Linked DNA regions of Homo sapiens: region 1 is linked to region 2. The links are contacts of gene promoters, found by promoter capture Hi-C in blood cells and fetal thymus (Javierre and others, 2016). All regions are on one chromosome and are shown on one strand. Each heading gives the region's core, a stretch centred on a gene start or on the middle of the fragment in contact. The rest is flanking DNA. Distances are from core to core; before and after follow the strand shown.

Evidence for each region. Contacts are between HindIII fragments. The CHiCAGO score rates a contact against its expected background, and 5 or more counts as called.
Region 1: a fragment that was not itself captured here is called in contact with the fragment with the promoter of ATRX in region 2 in 1 of 17 cell types (naive CD8 T cells); the score reaches 5.1 in naive CD8 T cells.

Annotation. Positions count from the first base shown.
Region 1 is chrX:77,503,125-77,505,824 of GRCh38, reverse strand. ATRX (ATRX chromatin remodeler) reads left to right here. Exons shown (of 35, transcript NM_000489.6): 35 at 1-945. Among named protein-coding and RNA genes, the nearest start is that of FGF16, 57 kb to the right of the region's middle. The HindIII fragment of the contact is 1,712 bases long and covers 472-2,183 here.
Region 2 is chrX:77,784,859-77,787,558 of GRCh38, reverse strand. ATRX (ATRX chromatin remodeler) reads left to right here and starts at 1,343. Exons shown (of 35, transcript NM_000489.6): 1 at 1,343-1,577. The coding sequence starts at 1,558. RefSeq lists enhancers at 1,270-1,459, 1,470-1,579 and a silencer at 1,680-1,729. The HindIII fragment of the contact is 7,766 bases long and covers 531-2,700 here.

The DNA of each region.
Region 1 (2,700 bases), core at 78-2,577, 280 kb after region 2:
GAAAAGCATTCAAGTATGACAATATACTATCTGTGTTTTCACCATTCAAAGTGCTGTTTAGTAGTTGAAACTTAAACTATTTAATGTCATTTAATAAAGTGACCAAAATGTGTTGTGCTCTTTATTGTATTTTCACAGCTTTGAAAATCTGTGCACATACTGTTTCATAGAAAATGTATAGCTTTTGTTGTCCTATATAATGGTGGTTCTTTTGCACATTTAGTTATTTAATATTGAGAGGTCACGAAGTTTGGTTATTGAATCTGTTATATACTAAATTCTGTAAAGGGAGATCTCTCATCTCAAAAAGAATTTACATACCAGGAAGTCCATGTGTGTTTGTGTTAGTTTTGGATGTCTTTGTGTAATCCAGCCCCATTTCCTGTTTCCCAACAGCTGTAACACTCATTTTAAGTCAAGCAGGGCTACCAACCCACACTTGATAGAAAAGCTGCTTACCATTCAGAAGCTTCCTTATTACCTGGCCTCCAAATGAGCTGAATATTTTGTAGCCTTCCCTTAGCTATGTTCATTTTCCCTCCATTATCATAAAATCAGATCGATATTTATGTGCCCCAAACAAAACTTTAAGAGCAGTTACATTCTGTCCCAGTAGCCCTTGTTTCCTTTGAGAGTAGCATGTTGTGAGGCTATAGAGACTTATTCTACCAGTAAAACAGGTCAATCCTTTTACATGTTTATTATACTAAAAATTATGTTCAGGGTATTTACTACTTTATTTCACCAGACTCAGTCTCAAGTGACTTGGCTATCTCCAAATCAGATCTACCCTTAGAGAATAAACATTTTTCTACCGTTATTTTTTTTCAAGTCTATAATCTGAGCCAGTCCCAAAGGAGTGATCAAGTTTCAGAAATGCTTTCATCTTCACAACATTTTATATATACTATTATATGGGGTGAATAAAGTTTTAAATCCGAAATATATACTGTGTCAAAGCTCAATATGTGCCAGGTAACTAAACTGTTAACATCACTAGCGTTGGATGTAATAACAGGATAGTGGCTCACCCCCAAGAGCTGCCATAAAATTCCATTATGATAGGTACTACCACCGTCTCTTTGGAACAACCTTCCTGACACCATTGTGCCACTAAACTAAGGGAATCATCCTTCCTCGCTTTCTAGGGATCTTTTTGATAGCGACTGTTGCACACACCTTCACCAAGAAAGAGAGCATATAAATTGAGGCCATTAGTAAAGATAAGGATACAACTATAATTGAAAGAATGAAGGAGTGAGGCAAATCCTAAAATACTGCAGGCAGGCCGTCTTTAATACAGCATATCACAAGCAATCTCTACCCAGCAACACTCCCCCACATTAAGTTCCTGAACATTCTACCCTTCTCTGATAGAAACATGTAAGGGATGAGGGAGCTTGGCTGTAATCTTCAGCTTTGCAAATACAATGACTATTAAGAGACTTTCCTATTAAGTATACCCAGGTCCATCCCTATGCTCCTTGTGTCGTATATGTGTTGTTTTTCAAGAAAGGTGAAGAAAGATGGCTTATATGCAAGGATGGGATTTGTTTTAGTTATATGGGGAGAAAGTATAGTACTGAAAGAGAGCAAAGAAGGATCGGGAAAGAGACTAAATTGGAGTGGATTGATGAAGAGCCTTGAAATCCTGAATGAGTAATTCAGTACAGAGGATAACAAGGGTTTGTGAGGCAGATGATAATGTTTAGCAAGTAAAGATGGCTATTTGGGTGAGGGTAATTTGGTTTAGAATGCAAGGTGGAAGATTGGAGACAGGAAGATAATTGGTCCAAGTATGAAGGACAAAAGAAAAAAAAATCATTAGAGGCTGTATAGGATAGTGAACTTTTACAATGATACTTATAATAAAAACCTGTTATTTTACTTTCCCCCTAAGGAGGCTTTGTTTCAGAATTTTGATTTTTACACACAAAATTCACTTACTCTGATTACTCTCAAACATAATGGTATGTTCGTCAGCGACATTCCTATTCTTTCTCAATTTTTTTTGTACTCCTTTACATTTGCAGAAAGTGAGATTGGTCCATTGAGTGTAATTCTACTTCTTTCCTCAAGCCAATTCTTAAAAAAGTGAAATCCAAATATTTCTGTTACATTTCTTTGAGACCCATTCATTCAAAGTGCTAGTAGCTTTGTGGGTAATGTTATATTTATAAGCTTTCCTTAGTATTTTCAACGTGCTTTGTAGTTATCGTGTTAACCCTATACACAACGTATCTGTGAGAGAAGTGAAAATAATGCCATTTTCCTTATGACAAGTTATAAGTGAAACCAAAATCAAATCTGTTGCACTTAAGGAGGCAGAAGACATAGTCTAGTTAGTTAAATTTTCCAGGTCTTTCATATCTAATTTGAGAAAAATGGGACAATAATAATACCTTGCCTGCTAGAAGGCAGGGGACTAGACCAGGTGATTTCCTAAGTCCTGTTAAGCTCCCCGAGTTAAACTTTGAGCAAAGCACAGTCTAAAGCCAAAAGGCAATGTGTTTGTCTAAGATTACAGGGTAAATTTGTAAACAGTACTAGAAATCCCTTCCCTTTGGCTAACCCTCTCCCCTACTAAGCTATACCTTTTCTTTCCCTCTGTGTAGAAAAATGAGAGGTCTGACAGACATTTTAATGACAAAGCAGGTAAGTTAAGTTGTAATTGGCTCTAATTACAACTTCCACTAGCTG
Region 2 (2,700 bases), core at 94-2,593:
AGCTTAGATGTTTGAGACCAGCCTGGGCAACAGACAGACCTACCTCATCTATACCAATACATAAATACATAATTAGCTGGGCTTGATGGCACGCGCCTGCAGTCCCAGCTGCTTGAGAGGCTGAGGTGGGAGGATTGCTTGAGCCTAGGAGGTCGAGGCTGCAGTGAACTGCGTCACGCCACTGCACTCCAGCCTGGGTGACAGAGCTAGACCCTGTCTCAGAAAAAAAAAAAAAAAAAGTTGCCTGAGCCTATCAGATTTTCAAAGTGTTTCATTCAAAAAAGGCTCCCCTCTTGCTATCCCAGTAGAAAGCAGCAACCCTGTCACCTAACCCCGACAGGAGCTCTTGCATATTTCAAGAAAAATAAATAGAATGAACTAAAGCATGCATGGCAGAATAAATTTGGAAATAAATTTCGAAGCGATTAGATTTTAGAGGACTTGTTTGTGATTAGCAGAGATTACCAATGTAAAATCAAATTATAGATCATAAAAGCGGGAAAGGCATTTACAGATCATCCAGCCAAGCTTCCTCTGTAATGAGAAGGAAGCAGATCTAAATTGATTGGTTTGTGAGCTAAACATCACATCAAATTGGGGAAATGGCCCGTGTGTGTGTGTGTGTGTGTGTGTGTGTGTGTGTGTGTGTGTGTATTCTAAGAGACACTTTATTCAATATGGAAAGAATTTTATGCAGCGTTCAAGTTGGTCTTATGTCGTCTGCACACATATACATATATATAAGTATATTATACACATATACATTTCCAAGCATGTTGGTGTGCCAAATATTATGTATAAAACATCTAGGAAAGCAAATAACTTGATGATAGCCTAGCATATAGGAAAGAAAATACTTACATAGGATGGCCATACAGATTAGTGGTTAAGAGTGTCTGGTGAATCTCGGCTCCACTACTGTGGGACTTTGTGTCTTGGTTTCCTCATCTGGAAAATGTAGGTTTGTCTACCTCAGAGAGTGTAAAGATTAAATGAGATAACCCGGATAAAGGATTAGTGTAGTGCCGAGCATATAGTAAACTCTCAATAAATGTAGGTTGCTGTTATTACTTCGTTAATATGTCAAAGAAAAAAGAGGTTGGACCAAAAGAGCATTTTCAAAATAAAGTCAAACTATGTCACTAGCACTTTCAGGTCAATTGGGACTAAATTGGACCCCCTGCGAAAAGGTGGAGGGGATCAAATGACGTCGACCGCCTTAGCAACAGGCCCCCAAAGAAGGTGAATTTCCGTAGCCAATAAGACTCTGTGCTTTGGAGGAGGTAGCCAATGGCTGACGGAAAGAGAAAGAGGGAGGACGCGCCAATTCTCCTGCCTGAGCCTCGGCCCAACAAAATGGCGGCGGCAGCGGTGTCGCTTTGTTTCCGCGGCTCCTGCGGCGGTGGCAGTGGTAGCGGCCTTTGAGCTGTGGGGAGGTTCCAGCAGCAGCTACAGTGACGACTAAGACTCCAGTGCATTTCTATCGTAACCGGGCGCGGGGGAGCGCAGATCGGCGCCCAGCAATCACAGAAGCCGACAAGGCGTTCAAGCGAAAACATGACCGCTGAGCCCATGAGGTAAAACGCAACCCCGTCTCATGGGCCCCAGCGGTCTGGGCCCAGGCACCGTCTGAGTCGGGTGTTTGGGAAGGCGTTCGCTTGGTGGGTTAGGCCTGTGTGTTGCTTAGCCGAAAGAGGCATCGTTTTCTCTTTAGGTGAGAAGGGTTTCGGGGTATCGGCGCAAGGCTCCGACGGGGGTGGGGGTGGGGATGGGGTGGGGGGAGGTGGGGGGGGCGCGGCCTAGGGTATGGGGCGCTTCTTGCAATCTCCCCTAAACGGTGACGCTTGGTCGGGCTCCTCTGTTTATTCTTTGGTGCCTGTGGGATTGAGACCTCGAAGTCGGAGGCGGTCTTTGGTATCCCGGTCATTTTTGCTAATCTTTGGGCCTAGAAACTGCGTGGGGAAGAAGCGGGGGGAGGGTGAGAAGAGGGGGAGGGGTGGGCGGGCGCGAGGATGTGAGATCCCAGGACGACTTAGAGGCGTTTAGGTTGCTGGAGATGGGAAGCACCCGGGCCCTGCGGGATTTTTTTTCTGCAGCCCCAGGAGACAAGCCTTTTTTTGATTGGGTTGTGGTGCAGTTCCAGGTATTTAGGTATCTTTTCTACTCCATATCCTGAAGGATATCCTTGGGTTTATTTCTAGGCGAGGGGGGACTTAACACAGGGTTTTGCTTCCAGAGGACCCTAGTATACTACTTTTTGTGATGTCCAGCCTTAATGGGACCTCAAGTGTTTCCCCACTTTCTGGGCAAATTTCGAGGAGTAATTAGGCCCTATCTTTATTTACTTATTTATTCCATGAAGGATGAAGGGCAGGTTAACGTGGGCTGATGCGAAGTAAGATTTATTGCAAGGGAAAATGCCTGGCAGGCCTCCTCTTAACCAATCAAGCACGTTTATTAGGTTGAAGCTGTTTTTCTGTGTGCTTCTGATTTGCCTCTTGACGGGTCTGAAAATTTGGGTAGTCAATATGAAATGTATACACTTTTACCCAGGTGGCTGGCTGGCGTTTCAGTTTGACATTTGAATTTTCATCCCACAATGTGAATTAAGTAATTTTTTTACTCGGAGATGCATCCTTGGCGTCCAGTGGCAAAATAAAATTACAAGGAGCATGGGTCAGAATTGCATTTCAAGTTGGC